4 separate regions of the Homo sapiens genome follow, and regions 1, 2 and 4 are each linked to region 3. The links are contacts of gene promoters, found by promoter capture Hi-C in blood cells and fetal thymus (Javierre and others, 2016). All regions are on one chromosome and are shown on one strand. Each heading gives the region's core, a stretch centred on a gene start or on the middle of the fragment in contact. The rest is flanking DNA. Distances are from core to core; before and after follow the strand shown.

What was found. The method cuts DNA at HindIII sites, captures the fragments that hold promoters and counts their contacts. A CHiCAGO score of 5 or more calls a contact.
Region 1: a fragment that was not itself captured here is called in contact with the fragment with the promoter of TAF10 in region 3 in 1 of 17 cell types (total CD4 T cells); the score reaches 6.7 in total CD4 T cells.
Region 2: a fragment that was not itself captured here is called in contact with the fragment with the promoter of TAF10 in region 3 in 1 of 17 cell types (M0 macrophages); the score reaches 5.1 in M0 macrophages.
Region 4: a contact is called between a fragment that was not itself captured here and the fragment with the promoter of TAF10 in region 3, in 1 of 17 cell types (M0 macrophages). The highest score is 7.0, in M0 macrophages.

What each region holds. Positions count from the first base shown.
Region 1 is chr11:7,512,499-7,518,107 of GRCh38, forward strand. It overlaps PPFIBP2 (PPFIB scaffold protein 2), which reads left to right and starts at 1,501. Exons shown (of 24, transcript NM_003621.5): 1 at 1,501-1,623. LOC124902806 (leucine-rich repeat extensin-like protein 5) reads right to left here. Exons shown (of 4, transcript XM_047428005.1): 2 at 1,620-2,107; 3 at 1-1,542. The coding sequence ends at 712. RefSeq lists enhancers at 277-396, 4,082-4,131 and a silencer at 1,067-1,596. The HindIII fragment of the contact is 2,352 bases long and covers 2,028-4,379 here.
Region 2 is chr11:7,529,785-7,535,354 of GRCh38, forward strand. The region is part of intron 1 of PPFIBP2 (PPFIB scaffold protein 2); the gene reads left to right. All of the region lies in intron 1 of LOC124902806 (leucine-rich repeat extensin-like protein 5), which reads right to left. Among named protein-coding and RNA genes, the nearest start is that of PPFIBP2, 19 kb to the left of the region's middle. RefSeq lists an enhancer at 1,351-1,520. The HindIII fragment of the contact is 3,655 bases long and covers 946-4,600 here.
Region 3 is chr11:6,610,689-6,614,231 of GRCh38, forward strand. TAF10 (TATA-box binding protein associated factor 10) reads right to left here and starts at 1,528. Exons shown (of 5, transcript NM_006284.4): 1 at 1,270-1,528; 2 at 976-1,130; 3 at 700-764; 4 at 501-615; 5 at 1-323. The coding sequence starts at 1,501. The coding sequence ends at 234. It overlaps TPP1 (tripeptidyl peptidase 1), which reads right to left. Exons shown (of 13, transcript NM_000391.4): 13 at 2,080-3,543. ILK (integrin linked kinase) reads left to right here. Exons shown (of 13, transcript NM_004517.4): 13 at 1-182. RefSeq lists enhancers at 143-731, 732-1,319, 1,775-1,904, 1,955-2,004 and silencers at 1,175-1,374, 1,385-1,484. The HindIII fragment of the contact is 6,165 bases long and covers 1-2,419 here.
Region 4 is chr11:7,574,267-7,580,203 of GRCh38, forward strand. All of the region lies in intron 3 of PPFIBP2 (PPFIB scaffold protein 2), which reads left to right. The region is part of intron 3 of LOC105376535 (a long non-coding RNA gene); the gene reads right to left. Among named protein-coding and RNA genes, the nearest start is that of PPFIBP2, 63 kb to the left of the region's middle. RefSeq lists enhancers at 1-429, 430-1,253, 3,977-4,056 and a silencer at 3,672-3,906. The HindIII fragment of the contact is 1,428 bases long and covers 3,844-5,271 here.

The DNA.
Region 1 (5,609 bases), core at 1,954-4,453, 900 kb after region 3:
CGGTGACTTAGAACATTTAAAAAGGTAACTGTATCAATTTAAGAACAGGCTAGCAGTTTCTGGGGGCGGAGGTAAGGGGAGTGGCTCCGCTAGGGCAATAAAGGGTGGGATTCGGAAACAGCCATGACCTTGTGTGAACTGTGGCAGCCTGCGTCTACAAAAGTCGCTCTGCTGCTATTTTAAGGAAGTGAAAGAGAACTGAAGGGTGTCCTGTTGTAACACAACTCTTGCGGGCCCCAGCCTTCCCCTGCTGGCTGTGCTTTGGTCTGCTGCTGGCCAGGTTCCCGCAGTGACCACACGTCTCATATTTGCCAGGGTGGGTTAGGTTCTGTTCACATGTAAAATTCTCCTGGGCCTACTGGTCATTTCAGACCGCGAGGGTAAATTTGGTTTGAAAAAGTTGTGTCCTGTGGAGTTTGTCGACACTCCAGCCTGTAGAGAACTAAAGGCTAGGGCTGTGGTGACTCCTGCCAGAGCTGGGGACTATGCCGAGTCCCTGGTGTCGCTGCCATCTGAGGCCTACAGGGATTTTAAACAGCTTAACAGCAGCCAGTCCTTGGAGGCCTGGGCAGGGCCACAACATAGCAGTACAACCAAAACGGGTTCAGGCCACACGCTGGAGGTAGGGGCTGGACCAGATCTCCAGCTTCAGTCCTCCCCAGTTCGAGAACCCATTCCTGTGGTCAGACATTGCCAACGCTTTTCTTGGACCTAAGGTCCCAGACCTTGGCGCTGGGCACAGGGAAATGCTTCCTGACCTCGGCTCTTCATAAGACAGAACTTTTGTTTGGTGCCAACCACTAGAGGGACCTCCACCCCAGGTTGCGAGTGCAGCGCGGCGGGACCTGGGATGATTCGGGGGCTTTCCGACCTGCTTAGGGAGGGCGGCTCAGAGACAACCTCAATTTTGCCTGGATTGCACGCGGGCCGAGGAAGTCGGGATGCTCCGAAGGGTTTCTGCTCTGGGAGTGCCTCTAATGTGGGTTTTCTATGCTTTCTCTCTTCGCAATTCTCGACACCGTTTCCTTCTTCCTCGCTTTCATTCCCTGTGACCGGAGAACGGCGCTGAAGGACTGGAGAAGCCCAGGAGACTGGGAGCCGGAGCGCCGGGTACCCACCCGGGCCTCCCCGCAACCGGAGCTGTGCGGAGGAGGAGGCGCGGCGAACGGGGCGGGGCTCCCGGAAGGGGGCGCGGTCCGCCGAGAGAGGCGGGGCTGGGGCCCGGACGCGCGGCCCAGGGGGTGGGGACGAGGCAGGTTCGAAGGGGCGGGGCTGACCAGGCCGGTCCCCCGGGAACAGGAACCCTGGTGGACGGGTCCCAGCAGGCTTCTTCGGTGCCCGAGAGGGAGCGGGTGCCCAAGGGGGTGGTCCCTGTGGCAGGTCCCGGGGTGGGGGCGCGGCGCTCCGGGAAGAGCCTTCCGCAGGTCCCCGCCCCGTCACGTGGGCGCCGGCCCCGGCCGCTGCGGTCGGTCCGCTGGTTGGTCGGGCGCTTGGTCCGGCAGTTGGTCGGTGGGCCAGTGGCCCGTCGCTCGCTTCTGGGCTCTCATGTTTGAAGGTGGGAGGGACACGGGAGCGGCCCGCACACCTGAGCCGCCCGGAGAGGAGCCTCGGCCCCGTACCCAGGTCAGTGGGCTCTCCCCACACCCCGGGCTTGCCGCGCGGTCGGGGTTGGGATCCCCGTCGGGAGCATTACCTAGGGAGTGGAGCGCCCCCAGAGCTACGAACCACGGGGACGTGTGGGTCAGTGTCTCTGTGAGCCCCGGAGCGTGTCCCAGGCTCGAGGACGGGGACCCTTCTCCAACTCCACTGGCCAGAAGCCTGGGAGGAGGGCAGAACTCCTGTGGGTTGGCTGCGAATCTCCACCCAACCCTGCCTGGGATCCGCGGACAGTCCGCACTCCTGCAGGTGCCAGCGTGGCCCTGGAGATGCGCAGGGAGGTGGGGTCCCTGAGTTCTGTGCGGCGCGTCCCAGCCCTGCTCAGCCCGGGGAGCAGCGGCGTGGACTAGGGAGCCTAAGGAGGTTGCGGAAGCTTTAGGTCTGTCAGCCCAGGCAATTCTCTGGTGGACACAGCGTGTGTCTAGATGCAGGGCCTCGGCTAAAGCCAGTTCTGTAGTGTAAGTGCAAAAATACAGCACACTTTTTAAAATCTAAAGCCGCCGCGTCCCAGTAGACTGCAGGATGGGGACGGTCCTATTTAAAAGTGGGCTCCCTCCTCACCTCATCACATCAGATTCCAGACCCGCAGTTTTTCCTCGGATGAAAATAAGATTATGTAACAAGAGAACAGAACTTCCAGCGTTTGGATAGGATTAAGACAGGCATTCTTGCCAGTGTTTAATCTTCTTAAAAAACGAATCTAATTATATTTTTACTTTTAGAGCAGCCAGATATTTGGTATAGATCCGTGTCCCTTTTCTATATTTTGGTCTACTTCCTGTCTTTCTCTTCGTCTCTCTCCTTTCTCAACCCCTCCTTAATTGATTGTAATACAAATCTGAAGTGTTTTCAAATTTGTAGTGTATTATGTGAAGTTAAATGGTCAACTACAGAAAAGTAGTTGGTTTTCGACATAATTCATCTTCAGCATATTCAGTCTTTCATTATTATAGGTGTATGGAAAGCTGTAAGTGTTATCTAATTTAGAAATTATTTCTCTTTGGCTTAAGAGAGGCAACCCATTTGTACTTTGCTTAAATTCATAGCTAAATAAATTTGAAGTGGGAGATGGGGATGATTGATGAGGTTTTCACTGATTGCATTTATCCATGTTTTATTTAACATATTTCAATTATTAGTAATACTATTTTAAGATTTGGTGATGTGACAGTTGTTAGCTTATTGCTACTGGAGAGATAAGCTGCTTACCATGATGCCTTCTTTACTGGGTAGCTAAGGGAGATGCGCTTTGACTTTAAAAGAGTAAGTGGAATGAGATCAATGACATGAAGGCGGTAGGAACAAAGTTATGGGAATTCCTGTCTTTCATCTGAGCAGGGAAATCTGGGATAATTTTAAGAAAGGGTGATGTGATGGACCTCAAAGGATCCCTCCTGGGGTTTTTGAGGCAGAGAAGGGTAGAGTGTGGCCTGGGCTGTGACAACTGTGTGGGCAGGCAGGCATGGACTCACCATGAGAAGTGGCCAGTGGTCCAGCTTGGCTCTTATGTCAAGTGCTAGTCAGGAAAGCTGGTGACAAGGCTGGAAAATAGTCCCAGCTGTCCAGTACAGAAGTCTGGACTTGGTCTGAAGGCACAGCAGGGGACTGACTGATGGTTCTGTGAACTTCTCAAAGTCAAAGACCTTGGTCCTTGACCCTCCCAATTCCTAGCCTGATACAGAGAAAATCCAGTAAATATTTGTGGAGTGCATGGTCTGACAACACTGTAGAGCAGAGCTTCTCAAAGTTGAGAATCCTGTGGGGATCTTGTTCAAATGCAAATTATGATTCCATAGGTCAGGGGTGGGACTTGACATTCTGTGTTTCTAACAGATTCCCAGGAGCTTGCTGATCATTTCCCTATGTGTAGCAAGGATTTAGAGTAGCAGTTTGCAAACCTGGCTATGCCTCATAATCGCCTGGGGAGTTTTGTAAAACGTTCAGATTAAGTAGTCTGGGATGTTTTTACCAAGTTCCCCCAGGTGATTCTGTTGACAAACCCGAAGGCAACTGCTGCAATGGCAAAGTTCTGGGAGTGTGGTGGGAAGCAAACTCCAAGGGAAAAAGACAGTGGGGGCGGCGAGGCCGGATAGGAAACCGGGAGGCTGATCCAGGGTCAAAGGGATGAGGCCTTATTTTGGGCCTGAGAGAGTGATGAGGTGGGGACAGGTAGGGAGACTTCGGAGAGATAGAATCTGTAGGACAGAGGACTAGGGAATGGGACAGTCTCTAGACTGATTAGATGCAATGAGAAGTGAGGAGGGAGAAACAATGCTGGGAAGATTCAGCTTTGGGCCTGAGGAATGGTATGGCCTTTAGACTGTAATGTTTAAGGTAAAGTTTATGAAAGGTTCTTGTATTGGTTCGAACCCCGAGAGCCTGCCAACAGACAACATGAGGCGGTGTGGGGCAACGTGCTGTTTTAACGAGCGCCTGGGTGCAGGTGGGCTGAGGCCTAAAATGGCGTCAGCACCAAGTGAGGACGAGGCAGGGGTTTTATAGTTTCCTGTAAACAAGAAGTGTCTCAGTCTGATGTAACTTCTGCACAGTACCCAGACGGCCCCTCTCTCTGTCTTCAAGGGGTACGTGTCTTCCAGCCAGGGTAGGTGTCTTCTGGCCGGCTGTCTTCCTGCTTCTGCTGTCTTGCTGATGCACACTGCTGGCGCAACTGGCCTTGCACCTTGGGACTGGGCCTGAGAAGGGAGGAGTTACTCATCTCTTCAAGCTTTCAGACCCCGGGGAGAATCTTTCATTCCTGTCTATTTGGTTATAGTAAAAAGGGAAAAGGGGTGACTTTCTCAATAACTACTTCAGGCGTGACTTAGGGGTGGTGTGGGCTCCTTGGAAAAAGAAAAACTTAATTTTTAGGGTATTCTTGAGAGATGTGTTGGTATCCATCGTGTCGTTGTAGCAGGAGCATAGTCTGAATTGTCTGGTGGCTAACTGTAGTTTCAATAAGAGTTTTAGTGGCTTTTATTATTAGTGGGATAACACAGGGGAGAAAAAGTGATGAAGATTACTGTCCCTACCAGGGTTTTAAATCCTCCTAAATTAGAGAACTGTTGTCCGGCTGCTAGAGTGAGAGCTCGAGTGAGGGTGATGAGTTCAGCTTTTTGGGAGGTGGTGCCTGGGAGGAGCAGATTGGCTTCAATAGTGTGGGGTCTTTAAGGGTAATGTGGACAGGGGTGTGGTGTTTTGCAACTGAGGGTGTGGAAATATCCCTAACAGCGGGGTTAACTACAGATAGGGGTAAGGAAAGGTTGCATGTTTTAGGGTGGGAGGTTGGAGGAGCAGAAGAAAGCTAGAAGCCTCGGAGGGGTCTGGGTTGATGCGTTGGGTACTACGGGGAATGTGGAAGTGGAGAGTAGTGTGGAGTTTTGAAAGGATGTCCCTGCCTAGGAGCAGAGTTGGGAATGAGACCAGGTTTGGGGTGAAAAAGTGAGTGAAGGAAAAGGTGTGCAGGAAGCAGAAAAGTGGAGGGGTGGCTCGGGGTTAGGAGACTTGTCCATCAATTCCCACAACAGAGACTTAGGAGGACTGGGTGGGTCCTGAAAAATTAGGTAAAGCAGAGTAGGTCACCCATGTTGATTAAAACCATCAGGGTTACCCTTGGCTCGGATGAAGTGATGGTAGTTGCCGGGGCATCCATTCCAGGGCACCATCAGTCTTCAGCGGCAAGGCAAATGAGATCCGAGTAGGAGGTTTTGGCCTGCTCAGGAAGGGATGGGGGGCGGTCCCTGCAGGGGCCGCTCATAGTCCGACTTCCAGTGGGGTCCTCCGCAGAGGGGGCACGGCCTGGTGGGCTTACCTGGGTATGGGCATTGTCTGGACCAGTGGCTTTCATTGCCGTACTTGAAACAGGCGCCAGGTGGAGGTGGATTGCTAGGAGGCTTCTGTGTGGAGCTGTGGCCCCGTGGGCCTGCAGGGCCCCTGATGGCGGAGGCAGGCATTTG
Region 2 (5,570 bases), core at 1,523-4,022, 920 kb after region 3:
CAGGTCACCTTGTGACCCTCGTGGAATGGCTGAGGAAGGAACCGAGGGGCTGTAAGAGTGGCCGTGTGATCCCTAGGAAACCTTCAGCTCTGGAAGGCCCTGTGGCCCTAACCTTGCCCTGTTTTGTCAGGTACTGCTAGAGAGACGCAGAAAACCTGGAGCATGTGTGCTGTTTGAGCTGCTGTATCCCAGGGTCTGCCACTTTGGGGGCTACCTGCAAGAGATTTGGCAACTTCTCAAAGGAACTCAACATCATGGTTGTTGTTTTTTTAACCCTGATCCCAACATTTAGGCCCTGATGAAGGGTCTTGGCCAAATCCATCTTCTGGAATAGTACAGTTGGGAACATGTTCTCTGATGTGGAGAGGCAGAGTGTTACATACTTACTGGGCCAGGCACTGAGGTGGGTAGTTTATTCTGTCCTCTTTCTTAACCCTCTGACTAACCCTGTGTAAGGCAGATATTATATCCATTACATAGTAACCTGAGAGGTTAATGTCCATATTACCCAAGGCAAAAAACGAATCCAGCTCATAAGTAGTGGAGCAAGGATTTAAGCCCAAATCTGTCTGACTTTGCTATGGTCTGAATGTTTATGTCTCCTAAAAATTCATATGTTGCAATATAATCCCCAAAGTGATGGTATTAGGAGGTGGGGCCTTGGGAGGTGATTAGGTCATGAGAGTGGAGCCCTCATGCTTGAGATTGGTTCCTTTATAAAGAGGCCCCAGAGAACTAGCTGGTTTCTTCCACCATGTGAGGACATAGCTGGAAGGCACCATCTGTGAACCAAGAAGCAATCCTGCTCCAGACACTGACTCTGCTGGTGCCTTGATCCTGGGCTTCCCAGCCTCCATAGCTGTGAGAAATACATTTCCATTGTTTGTGAGCTACCTTCCCAATTTATGGTAATTTTGTTAAAACAGCCTGGACAGACTAAGACAAAGCTTGGGCTCTTTCTGCTGCATGCTGCTCCTCTCTTTCTTCAGGGGAAGAAGCACCTCACTTGGGAAGAAAGGAGCCTCAGAAGGCTTGAGGCTGGGGGTATGGGGACCCAGCGTCTATACTACCCCTTCTGTGGCCATTTGGAGTCACATAGACCTCTGTAATTTTCACTTTTTCCTTTGATTCTGAGGAACTGTTTGGGTATCTTCTATAGGGGAATAAAGACTCTGCTTTATGGAAAGGAAGAGCTGAGAAAGATGGGAGAGAGGTCCCAGGAGATCATTAGACCTTCCCACTCCCCTGGAGTCCAGCTAACAAACTTCCAGGAGCAAAACCACTTGGGCCTGCAGGGAAGGGGCTACCTAGTACAGTGTCATTCTCCAGCAGGCCTGTCTTTGGCCTGCAGGAACACTTGTGCAAGTGGGGGATTCCTAGATCACTTTTCTTGGGAAAGTCCCTAAACCACTTTCTGGCCTCTGAACTCTTAGGGGAGGGAAGTGATCCAAGTGGCAAATATCTTGTGACTGGCAAGCCAAGGTTAGGGACCAACCCTTCCCCTGCCTCCCCACATGCTGGAGCTTTTGAACTGAGTTGAAGATAGCTGGGCCCAGGGCTCTTGGCCCTTGAATGCAGCTTGACATCTGGTCAGGCTGCAGGATCTTAGGGTTTCCTCTTTGTAGCATCCTAAAATCTGGCCTCACTAAATGGTCTCGGTCCAGAGGTGGGATTCGACTTAGAGCTGACTTACAAAGAATACAGATAAAGGAATATTGGGAACTGTGCTTACCTTGATGTGGTTTAAGGTCTGAGGATGTGAAGAAAGTCTCTCCTGGATTAAGAGGGAAGGGGAACACCAGTGGGTCAGGATAGAGGCCGACAGCCCTGGAGAGGAGGCTGCCTTCTTCCCATAACTTTCCCAGCTGCGTGTGTAGGATCAAATGGGGGTGTGTGTTAGTTTGCTTGGGCTGCCATAACAAAGTACTGGGGGGCTTACACAACAGAAATTTATTTTCTCACAATTATGGAGGCCAGAACTCTAAGATCAGGGTGTTGGCAGGGTTGGTTTCTTTTGGGGCCTCTCCTTGACTTTTATTTATTTTTTATTAATTTTTTTTTTCTTTTTGGAGATGGAGTCTCACTGTGTTGCCCATGCTGGAGCGCAGTGGCACGATCTTGGCTCACAGCATCCTCCACCTCCTGGGTTCAAGTGAATCTCCTGCTTCAACCTCCTGAGGAGCTGGGATTATAGGCATGTACTACCACACTTGGCTAGTTTTTGTGTGTGTGTTTTTAGTAGAGATGGGGTTTCACCATGTTGTCCAGGCTGGTCTTGAACTCTTGGCCTCAAGTGATCCACTCACCTCGGCCTCCCAAAGTGCTGGGATTATAGGCATTAGCCACCATGCCCAGCCTCTCCTTGACTTTTAGATGGCTGTCTTCTCCCTTTGTCTTCACATGGTCTTTCCTCTGTACCCATGTGTCCTAATCTGCTCTGCTTTTAAGTACACCACCTATTGGATTAGGGCCCACCCTAATTATCTCATTGGAATGTAATTACCTCTTTCAAGACCTTATTTCCAAATATAGTCACATTCTGAGGTACTGGGGGTTAGGACTTCAACATAAGAATTTTGAGGGTGTGGGTACAATTCAGCTCATAACAGGGTGTTTCCAAAATCCTCATTGAACAAGGCTCAGTGTCATGGTGAAGCATGGAGAGGCACTTACTACTGATCCTGCCAACCTTGGGACCAGGAGAGGATGGTGGACCCAGCTAGCTAGTGGAGGAAGCCTGACTGGCCTCGTCCAAAGGCTCAGCTCCAGGCCGAGCTGTTTACTTGTAGTCAGGCTCTCTGGCAGCAGTAGTTTCTGTGCAGTGTCTTCATCTGGCTCCCGTGTGGCCCTCGGAACTCCAGTGAACACAGAGCTGCTAATACCCTCCAGCCCAGGCCTTCGGGGGAAGCCTCCTTCTCCTCTGATGGAGGCAGAGGCCAGGCTGTTGTTGACAGTGCACACAGGCCTGTCTTTAAAGAAATTCTTTGGTCTTCTACTGACTTAACTTTTTTTATTGCAAGGGGAAAAGCATTGCATTGAATCAAAATTAAACTGTTCAACAAATGTTGAAATGAAGGCTCAAATTACAGAATACATTTTGATTAATTCAATTAGTGTTTACCTCCAGCCTGCCAAATTCTGGGGCCTATTCCTCAGCAGGCAGCCAGGGAGGCTCGTAGGAGGGAGTTGGCTATAGGCAAAAGTTACGCACGCTCCAGCTAATAGAGAAAACTTACCAATTCATATCTGTTTTTTTTTGTTGTTGTTGCTTAGCATTCTAAAATAATGGAATAGGGAGAAGTGCCTGGTTTTATTATCTATTAGGGGAAGTGACATCCTTTTTTCTCATTGGTCCTTCAGGAATACAATTGCATCCATCAGTTATGTCTCTCACTCATGCCAGGCCCAAGCGTAAGTTCCCCTTATGGTAGAGACGCTTTCACCTCTGAATATCTGGCTGTAAGAGAGAAGGGACCCCAGGTGTGGAGAAAGTTCGATGAGAGAGGCTGTCATGGATAGCCCCCAATCCTTCTTTCAGAGTGCTGGCCAAGGTTACATGCCCAGCCTCCCTTCACTTTCCACTCAGGTACACAAACACTTAACATTTTGTGTCAACAAACATTTACTGAAGGTCCTGTGCCAGGTTCTTTGCTGGGCTCTGAGGATAGAAAGGTGAATGGAGCATACTCCTTGCTCTCTAGCAGTTAATCTAGACAGGGAGGCAGACACATTGAGAAATAATACAAATTATTATCATCTTCATAAATAATATAGACAGCTCTGACGATAAAGGTGTGTACCAGATATGACAGGAGCAGAGCTGAGGCATCCAGCACCTTCAGGGATGAGGGGTAATGGTGTTAGGAAAGGTTTTCTGGCAGTGGTCATTTGGATAAGGCCTTAGCATGGGTGGGATTTGAAAGTAGAGATGGAGAAAAGCACCCACGTAGAGGAAGTACAGAAAATGGGGTATTTCTGTATGCGAGGGTAGGACGTGGTCCAGTGAAGCTGGAACTCAGAGTGGTGAGGACTATAGCGGGGAAGGTTAACTGTATTAGAGGACTTTGGCAGAGCTGCAAAATGCAGCTTCTCTCCTGAAAGCACTGTGAAGCCGAGGAATGTTTGAGAGCAGAGGAGCATGTCATGAGCTCCATGGAACATGTCTTGCCTGCACAGGGAAAGAAAGACAGATTGCAGGGAAGTTGGCTAGAGGTAGAAAGCCCAGAGGAAGCAGCTTTTGCAATCTGGCTGAGAGATGATGAGGTTCTAAACTGTGGTGAGGTGAGAGGTAAGGAGAGTTTGGTGGAATGTTAGGACCTATTCAGGGAGTTTGAATGGCACTGTAGAAAGAGCACCAAATGAGTCATCAGGAACTTAGGTTCAAATCTCAGTTCTGCTGGAAGGGAAAGTAGAATTCTCTGCCCCCTGCCCTGAAAAGTCCACATCCCCAGGTGGTGGTTTGGTTTTTTGTGTTAGCCTGTTACTATAAAAAGAATTCAAATGTACACAGAAATAGAAATAGTAAAATGCATCCTCTTACCCATCATTTAGCTTAACCTCTTGCTTGTATTATTTTTTAGGGGGGCAATTTTTGAGATGAAGCTTTTTGGAAATATTCACTTTGAGGTTGCATTTGAAGCATTTCTCTGAATCTGTTTATGATCTGGTTGAGGCAATGAAATAATTTCACGTCCATTTGTTCCTCCCTGGAGGTAAATTGTGTGTATGCATGTGTGTTCTTTGCTGTAAGAAGGAAAATGAGGGTAGCTTCCCTTGAAGGGTAAGTTCTGGGGCTGAGGAGGCACATTGCCAACCGGGTCCTGTCAGGGGCATGAGGCTCTCTGTCTGCTGTGGGGGCAGGTGTGGTGTGGACAGGGGAGAGAATGGAGGTAAGGACTACCACAGGTCAGACACCCTTATCCATTCACTGGGAGGGGCTTGTTGCCCAGAGCTTAATTCACACTGACCAACCTGACAAGGCTGGTCCATAAGCCAGACACCAATTTAATTTACTCTGGCAGGCATTGTGCAGTGGCCACAACGCAAATGCCTGCTTTCCCAGACCGCCTTCCTGGCCTTACCCCACCTGGCAAAATGAATTACAGCATCATCCGCAGGTTGCTGGGGAGCCATGCTCTCAAATAGAAGGCACCATGTGCATTGCAGGTGCATCACTACAGGCCCTGATGGGACCTCATAGGCTCTTTCTGGTGCAGGCCACTTCCTTTGCCAAGGTGGCTCTAGGGAGAGGGGAGGATGGGCTGAGCTGCACATGCTCAGTTCCTTCTTTCATTTCCACCATCAGATACTGAGCTGTTTCCCAGGGGAGGAAATCCTGGAAAGAGAGGAAGTTAGTATCCTCCCATTGGGTCTTGCCCATGACAACATGAAGCAGAAACTAAATGGAGGTGGGAGCCCATGTCTCAGCCAAGATTCATTTCAACAGGCAGGGGTGGGGATGCTGTCATAGAGAAAACTTGCCTGAGCATTGAAAAATTAGTTTTGATGGACAGAGATTGGGGAAGGGGCCTTTAGTTGAGGAAACAGCATGACAAAGGCACAGTGGCATA
Region 3 (3,543 bases), core at 278-2,777:
TCTGGTTGCCTCCCCCGCCTCCAGTCATGGTACTACCCCAGCCATGGGGTCCATCCCCTTCCCCCATCCCTACCACTGTGGCCCCAAGAGGGGCGGGCTCAGAGCTTTGTCACTTGCCACATGGTGTCTCCCAACATGGGAGGGATCAGCCCCGCCTGTCACAATAAAGTTTATTATGAAAACAGGCTGGTGTGGGGACATGGGGACAGATAAGTACATTTAGGTTGGGTGGCTCAGGTGAAGTAGTGCGGCTTCTTCACATTGATGCCATACTCGCTGAGGGCAGGGGTCAAGTCCTCCATGGTTAGAGTGTACTTGCGGTCCTGAGGGAAGAGGGAAGAGCACCAACTGAGCACAGGAATCCCGGACTTCAATCCCAGATGGGTGACCCTGAGTAAGTCTTACACCTCCCCTACGATTCAGTTTCCCCAAAGGGGTGGCAGGATAAGCCTCCACTGTTGTGGAAGGTAATTACTGATTCATTAAGCCTCCCCTCACACCTTGCTCTTGCTCCGGGAGCTGCCGGAGGCCGTGCCCTTCATTTTGCAGTGCTGTAGGGCATCATTGGCAATATCTGAGATGAATTTCTGGGCAGCTAAGGAGATGAGCCGAATTCTAGAGAGAAAAAACTTAGATGAGAAGGAGATGGACAACATACTGCACAAGCACCCAAAACTAACCTGCCCTGGGTTTACTCACATGCGTGGGTCTGAGGCCTCAAAGCCAGCACGGTTCAGGTAGTAACCAGTCACTGCATCTGGGATCTGAGAAATCAATTAAGAGAACTGTCAGCAGAGCGGGAGGAGGGTGAGGGAAATGGATAGGCCTGATTATCAGGAAGCTCACAGTTTGGGTGAGCAGAGGGCAAACACAGAAGAGCGACTAGGGGAGCAAATGGAAGAGAACGCTGAAAAGCACGATGTGGCTGAAAGTTTTGACAGCAGGCTAGGTGGCCTTGTTCGGGCGGAAGCCCACCGTAGGCGTGTAATCTTCCAGCTGCATCAAGAAGTCCACCAAAGGCGTGCTGGACACCACGGGCTTCACGTCTCCGTTGGCCGCGCTCGGCAGTACGTAAACCCCGTTAGATATGGCCCCCTCCGGGGGCGCCGCGCCACCCGCCGACACCGGAGCTGGAGGAGAACCAGCAAAATGAGACACAGAGGTGGGAGGCGCAGGGCCCCAGCTAGGTCTGTCTATACCCTCTGCCCTCACCCGCCGCTGGACCCAGCCCAAGACGCTTCCCTCGCCCTCACCCGTCCCGGCCCTCACCCGCCCCACGCCGCTCAGCTGGCTCCCCGGCCCGCGCCGCCAAGGGTCCCGTGCCCCCAGCAGCTGCTCCAGCCCCAGGTCCCCCCGCTGTCCCCGCGGGGCTGGCCTTGTTCTCCGCGGCGGTGCTGGAGGGCAGCGCGGCGGGAGCCGAGACCGGGGGCGCGGGGCCCGGGGCCGAGGCGGCGGAGGCCGGCGCCGCCTCGGGGTCCGCGCCGGAGCCGCTGCAGCTCATCGGGCCGGTGGGAGAGGCGGCGAACAGAGCCGCTTCCGCTTCCGCTCGCGCCGCGCACACCCCGGGGTGACGTCACGCGCCCACGACTCGCCCCGCCTGTCTCTGTTAGTGCTCTCCAGCCCGCTCCCCGCCTCCTCCCATAGTGGATCTGCGGGTTAGAGGAAATAGGCTGCAGGGCGGAGACCGAGCCTTGGCGAACTGCGCTGCCGTAGCCATTCCGCCCTAGCCTCTGCCGTGCTCCGCGGCGATTCCGTCCAGACCGGAACCAGCGTGCGTCTGGCTCTCCTCCGCCGCTCTGGGACACCTCATTCTGTCTGACGCTCAAGACCTGGCTTCGACGTTTATGGCCCTATGTCCCTCGACTACGGGTTGCCTGCCTGTCTGCATCGTTTCAAGTTCCCTTATTCAGCCTTTTAAGGATTCATAGTGGATTTGGAAAGCCCCCTCTCTTCTCCGCCAGCTGCCCCGAGAGGTGGGGGCAGCAGTGGGGCGGCACACAGTGCTGCTGTAGGAGGAGGAGGAGTTTCAGCCTGAGTCAACAACATATGCAAAAATCACAACGAATGAGAGGCGTGAGGTTTTCGGTGTAGCAGACATTTAATTCTTATTTGCCAACTCCTGAGCTAGGACCTGGGAACACAAAGTTAAATAGGACACGATTCTAGTCCTCTAGGCACCAACGGTCTTGGAAAGGAAGGCAGACAAGTAAACTGGCCATTTCAATACTACGTGGTCGTTACAATGCTAGAGGTAGGCACAGGGGGCGCAGTGCAAGGGAGGAAGGGCGTTAACATCTGCCACCTACTTCCAGGTGCCAAGCACTGTTATCAACATTATTCCACTTTATTCCCTGGTGATTATGAAAGGCAGGTATTGATATTCACACTTAACAGACGAGGAAACAGCCTCAGGGAGATAAGCTTACTTGACCCAGTCTCTCTCCTAGTCCATATCAGAACCAAGATTCAAACAGGTTTTGTTTAGAAAATCTAGGATTTTTCAGCCATACCAAAATAAAGTAGCCTCAGGGAATCAAAACATTCACGAAAGAAGGTGACTTCTGAACTGAGTCTTGCAAGAATTCTGGAAATTAACCTGGCAGTTGTATCAGGGGTGGTAAGGGGACGGAACAGCTTGAGCAAGAGTGAGAGTTCCTTGGGGTTTGGGGAGGGAGGAGGAAAAATGATTTTTTACTTAAGAACAAATAGCAAGGAAGGTTTGTGAGCTATGATTGGGGGCTGGAGGGGAAAGCCTGAATTCTATCCAGTAATCCTTGAAGGGTTTTCATCCAAGTGGCCTGATGGGATTTGCATTTTACTCTGGAAGATGACTTGGGGATTGGCAGGAAGTAAGGACACTTTTTTTCAAGAGAATATAGCCCTAAACTAAGGTAGTAGCAGTGGGGATATAAGTGGATAAGTTCTAGATATACTTGGGAAATATAATTGGAAGGACTTGTGGACTGATAAAGATATATTTAAGATGTGCAGTCAGTAGGACTTGTTGATTGAGGACTTGTTGATTGAAGGTGGGGTGAAAAGATGACACAGGTTTCTGGCTTGGTTGGAAAAAGCATAGCATCATTTACCAAGAAGAAACGAGATGGAATTGTTTGGGGTTGGGAAGGTGGACGATGAAATGTTGAGTATCACGCATCTTACATTTGAGGTATCAATCATTATTGGATAGAAAGTCTTATTTAGTGAGATGGTAATGGTTGTAGATGTCAGTGATTTGTTCCAGGGGACAATGAGTAAACTGAGAAGAGCAAAAATCTACAAATGGAGCAATGAAGGTCAGCATTCCATGAAGAAGCAGAAATTGATGAGAGAGGAAGACAAGAGTAGTCAGAGAAGTTAAGACCTGGAAGCTAAGTAAGGAGAGGGAGTGGGCAACTATGATGGAAAGGCCATAAAGCAAAGATTGAGAAGTATGCACTGGAGGCCATTGTTTCTGGATGTCAGGGTAGGAAAGAGTAAACGGTGACAGTAGAGGTCTCCTTGCAGTGAATTGGGGAATGAATATCAAGTGAAATAGTGCAC
Region 4 (5,937 bases), core at 3,308-5,807, 970 kb after region 3:
TAGTGACCCGTATTTGTGTACCCTTTGTGCTTCCTGAGGACTTCTGTCTTCAGAGAGGGGTCCAGTGAGTCTGAGACACCACCTCACAGGAGCAGTATAATGGGAGCAGCAAGCCCAGGCCCCCGAGCTCCCAATAACAAGGGGAGCCTAGACCTTTGGGAGTAACTACCTCGGCCAATTAAAAGCTGGGCTTCTAGCCTTTTGGGAGTCATGGACTGTTCTGATAATCTGACAACTCTTTTTCAGATAAAGATTTATGAATACAAATAGTAGTACTTTCTATATATTTGACGAACATATTTAGGGGCTCATCTGATCCCTGGAATCCCATCTGTAAATCAAGTGAGGTGCCCTGGACAGGATGGACTTCTAGGGCAGTGGTGCAGCCATGGGTTTGCCTTGCCAGGCCAGTGTGATGAGGGAGCCACGACAGGGACCCAGCTGCCCCTGGGGGTGGGGTGAGTGAGCGAGGAGGTGCCTTAGCTTCTGAATCCATCCCATTTCACTCAGCCCTTCCCCTTTCCCTCCTGCCAACCTGCTCCTAGGTCTTTTGGGGTGTTAATTTGTGATTTTTGAGTTGAATTACAACGTAAGTAAAATGTACTTGGTGTTTAAGGAAAAACAAGGCTGAGATAAGACTTGCTACTTGAGAATGCCATAAAAATGTCAAGAATTTAGCTGCAGTTTATCTGGATTCTTCCCTCCCTTCCTCCCTTTTCTGTCCCTTTCTCTCCCCTACCCTGCACCCCCCACCTTTGTTCATCACACATTGAGTTGAGCTAACAGAGGAAATGGGCCCCGTCTTTTCCTTTTTGTGTCGAACATCTTTACCCTGGAGAAACGGACCTTCAAGTCTCTTTCCTTCACATAGAATTTTAGTCTTACTTTACCAGTCTTATCATTTGAGCCTTATTCTTTCATCCAAAAAATGTTTAAATTCGTACTGTGTGCTAAGAATTGTAGGCATGGAAGTAGGAGAAGTGAGTTGGAAATCAGACACACTTCTGACAGTCTGGTGCAATAGGAGTGGTCCAGTGTGACAAGGTCAGTGATGAAGTAGAGAGGGGAATTTAGGTGCTCAGGAAGGGATAGAAGAGGGACACCTGAGCCACAGCTCTATGTAAGCTGGGAGTGAGCAAGGCTGATGAGAGCAGCCACATTGGCCACCTTTCTCTTTTCTCTTTTCTCCTCTCTTGTACCAGAACCTAAGGAAGAGCACTGCACTCCTCCCAGGAGAGGGGAGAATTTTCCACCATCCTGTAGAGGCTGGAACCTTGCGCCACCTCTCCCTGTCCAGCTCCCAAATCAGCTTGTCTACCTCCTCTTCCTTGGAGTCCCAGATATACCTTTATTGCATACCATATGATAATTCTTAACCCAGGGCATGAAGTTTTTCATTTGCCTTGGATGCGGGGAAAATGTGTATTGACTGGATGAATTTCTTCATTTGACTTGTTCAGGCTTTTAGACAGAGAAAAACCAACCTACTGACCCCTGTACCTTTAGAGATGTTCTTCCTTGGCAACATCCTGCCATAGCACGGGCAGGGAACCTGGGCTGGGTGGGTCACACTGTGCTGTGGAGCAGGGCCAGAGGTGAGGAGCAAGGGGCTAGAGCTCAGCGCATGGGCAGCAAAGCCTGCTTTTCCTTTCTGGCCTCTGTCTGGGTGTGTCTCCAGGAATTTACTCCTCCCCTTATGCCAGCTGCTGGCTAGAGCTCTCCTCCTTGCCGCCTCTGTGATCTCTGTGGGCTGGCCCAGCCTGCCGGGGACTGTGCTGCCAGGCATTGTTTCTCCCCTTTTGGGCCCTGCTTCTGGCCCTGGTGGACATTGAAGCCATGCTGAGGGGCATGCGGCATGAGGGGCATGAAGGACTGCTCTTCAGACTGGGAGTTCCAGGAAACCCCGGAGGTGACCCCCAAGGGAACTGGGAAGGCCCAGGCAGTCACAAGCTGTGCATCTGCAAGTCCTTTGCCACAGCAGAGCTCGGGGCCTTGCGTGTAACCACAGTTCCCACCGTGTAACCACAGTTCCCACCGCACCCACATCAAAGGTCACTTTGATAATCAGCCATAGCCAAAGGCCACACATTAAGGGCTGGGGAAGGGAGAAAAGCTGTTTTTAGTGGGGAGCTCTCAAAGGAGATGGGAATAGGAGGAGGTGGGGGGTGGCATCTAGGGAGTGCTGGAGGGGCCACCTGGAGAGCCTGCATGTGACCTGCCCTGAAAGGAGGAAAACAGCTGCAGCTCCAGGTCTCCGCCAGCCTTTCCAAGGCCCCTGTCTACCCAGCACTGCTCCCTGAGTCTCATGGAAATGCACGTGAAGCAGCCTCAACCTTTCCACCTCCTTGGTTTGTAAAGCAGGTAGCCCAGAGTGGGGGACAGCCAGAGAGGCAGGACCCTCCAGCCCTGGCCCCTGTTCAGAATGTGGCCCCCAGGGTGCCCTGGCTGGTGGCCAACAGTCCAGGGCCAGACTCCCCTGAGTTTGCGGCAGTTGGTCTCTAATGGATGGTACCACCAGTGCCAAGGACAGCAAACGCTCTGTGCTGGGCCCGTCGCACAGCAGGACCAAGAACCCAGACTGGAGCTGCTTTTTTTTGGAAACAACAGGCTTTCCTCAGGGCACAGCCCGTCACTCGCCTGGAAAATGGGTGGGCGTGGGCTTCAGGGCGGGGGTCAGGCTGTGTGTGGGAACCAGTGAGCTCCTCCAAGAGCAGCACTTATTTTTAGTCTTCTCCCCAGTCCCAAATAAACTGAGAGCAGCTGGGAGCCCTGGGTAAATGCAGAGTGAAGCAGAGACAGGAAATCGGGGCTCTCAGTAATGAGTTCCAGCCACTCCAGAAGGGGGAAGCCAGACAAGGAATTTTCTTCAGGACTGTTTCCCTCTGGCAGGCTCCGGTATTATCACTGAGAATGGTCCCGTGTGTGTGTGCGTGTGTGTCATGTTTACAACTTCTGTCCAAGTCTTCTTTCTTTTTTCTCTACCTTTGTGTGACATTTGATTTCTCCGCAGGGCTCTGAATCCCAGTCCTGGTGCGTGTGCGTGCATGTATGTGCGTGTGTGTGTGTGTGTGTGTGTGTGTGTGTGTTTGTTGGGGTGGTCGGGGAGGACACTGAAGCAGCACGGTCTGCTCTGTGTCGCTGTGTGTCTGAAACTGTCTAGGGAGAGGCTGAAGGACGCAGGCCAGGGAAGTGGGGAAATTTGAACACAGCTTGGAGTTCTTGAGGGGGGAGGGGGCAGAGGCAAGGAAGAGGAGAGAACTGGTCTCCAGCCAGGAAAAGGGCTTTTTCCACCAAGGCATCTAACTGCTGACATGGGTGCCCAGCATGGATGGGGACATTGATGTTTACAAGCATTTCTCGTGGCTGAAGAGGGTAAGTGACTGGCTGCTTTGTCTGGGTCTCCGTGGAGATAAGTGAGGGGGAGACGCTTTGGGGTGTTTTGGGGTGTGTGTGCCTGTGTGTGGTAGGGGGAGGTATTGTCCAGCAAAGCCCTGCTGTGGCCAAGTTCTTCATGAGAATCTAATTATAGACACCAGGGAGAAAACAGTCAGCTGTCTTTGTTTCTCCACTGACATTCTAGTGAATGAGCCTCTGTACAGAAAGGCAAGAATGGAGTGAGGAAAGTTGGTTATTTTAACTTTGGCACCTAAACAGTCAGAGGCTCCAAACACCGTGACCAGAAGAATGTGCCCACCGCTTTTCAGTTTGAGGACACAGGGAGGAAGCTGCTGCCTTTTTAAATGCATTGGATTCGGAAGTTGTTTAACTCGTTCTCACTCTGATGTTATCCGGTGGAGCACACATCTGCTGTCAGCAGAATGAGCTTCTGCATTTCCGGAGGAAAGCTTTCAGGGAGTTCTCTTTGAATGCTCTGAAGCTGAGGGTTTATGTTGCAAGTTGTTCATGCCCTTTCTTTAGAGGATAAACCTGAGTGTGTGGTATGAGCAAGGAATGAACGGACGTTGGGGGCTGGAGTAGCATCATACTCCTAGAATTCAGGCTGTTTCCTCTTTTGTGGCTGCCTTTAAATTGGCTAAGATAGGTATGAATTTATTTTCACACGAAGGGATTTTAGGCTGAGTGTTTTTCAGAGGCAGGAAGGGCAAAAGCAGCTGACAGGTTAGAGATTTGACATTGTAACTGCAGAAGGACAGAAGAACCAGGAAGTGTCCAGCTTGGAAGGGGCATGCAGATGCCCGGACCCCGACTCCCGGACACTGAGCTGGCTGGCTTTTGTGTGAGTGCAGCAGCACTCATTCAGCAAATCTGTACTGAGTTTGGGTACTGGGTGTATAGTAGTGAGCAAAATAGAACCAGCCTCTTGTGGATCTTCTACCTAATACTGGAGATGTAGGTGAAACAGTCCCAGGAAATAAACCTCAGATTACAAACAATAAGTGTGCCTGGAGGAAGAACAGAAGACACGGGACTGCTGTTTTGATGGAGAAGGGGGTTGGGGCGGTCAGGGAGTTTGAGGAAATTATACTTCGCTGAAAACTGAAAGAGCAGTAAGAATGAGTCAGGTGAAGAATGGGGTGAAGAACATTCCAGGCAAATGGGGCATAGGGGATGATGTATATACAAAGGTCCTAAAGCAAGATGGAGTCTGCTGATTGTCCAGATTGAGAGAGAGCCCATGTGGCTGAGCACAGTGATGGCAGACAGAGGCGGGCAGAGGCTGGGATCACGCAGGACAGTGAAGGCCACGGTAAGGCTTTTGGGCAACCTGGTTTGTGTGCTGGGGGACTTGTAGCAGGGAAGTGACATGGGATACATTGGGGGGGGTCTAGTTTGTATTTTAAGAAAATTACTCTAGCTGTGATGTGGTATATGGTAAGCTATGTTGGGAAAAGTGAGGCAACTGAACACAATTATAGGGCTGGAGGGCTTGGAGGGATGGGATAGTACAAACCCCTCATTTAACAAAGCCCAAGAGGGGCTAAGAACCTCATGGTATTAGTGTCATAGCTATTAGTGGTGCAGCCTGGTCTTGAACCCTGTTCTCTATCTCCCAGTCTAGTTCTCTTTATTCATTTTCTCTGCCAAATATGTATAAAATTATTGCTTTAGAACCCAGCAGAAATCCTGTCTGTGCCCAGCCCCTAGGGCATCACAGTCACCAGAAAGCATGCTGAGATGACCAGACGTTTTGGCAAAGGTTTGCATCATCTTAGGTTTTTTTTTTAAGCCCCACTGGGGAGATACTGAAAGGAAATATGTAAGAAATGCACTGACCATCACTTGGTCCTTCTTTCCCTGTATCCCAAATGAAGCTTTTAATCAAGAAATCCTTTCAGCCAACATGTGCCTGGGATTGTCAGAGCCTTGTCCCAGCCCCTGGGGCAGATACTGTAACTCTGCCTGCTACAGGAGAAGTTATGTGTGTGGAGGAACTAATTTTGCATGTGATGCAATGTAAGAAGGCCCTTCTTGTCCCAAGACCCAGGGTATGCTGGCTCCTGTGGACAGTTGGAAGTTTGCTTAGGGAAACTTTAAGCAAGGAGACTTTAGAAACCCCCAGGATGACTCATAGCAAAACAGATATTTTTCTTCTACTTTTAGAATTTTAAAGAGCATTTTACAAAAGCAAAACTCAAAGTGTAGACATGTCATTGGCAGTGTGATAAGAGTATTTTCACTATTCTCTACCCTAAACACTACTGCCAGATTTTTAAAATCTTCTTAAAAAAAAAAACAAAAAAAACAAATTCCCTTTCGTCCTGTGACCCCAGTGATGAGCCCCCCTGGACTCACCCTTAATCTGGAAGAAAAATCAGGCCCTTCGGCTTGCTTGGCCTTTGAGACCATTAGCAGCCCAACCTCAACTTACCTTTTTAGTTTTATCTTTTATATCTACCCTGATGAGCTCCCAAGTGTATTTCTTCCCTTTTCTGAGCTTTTACCACAGATGACCACCTCCTCTCTAACTCTCATCCA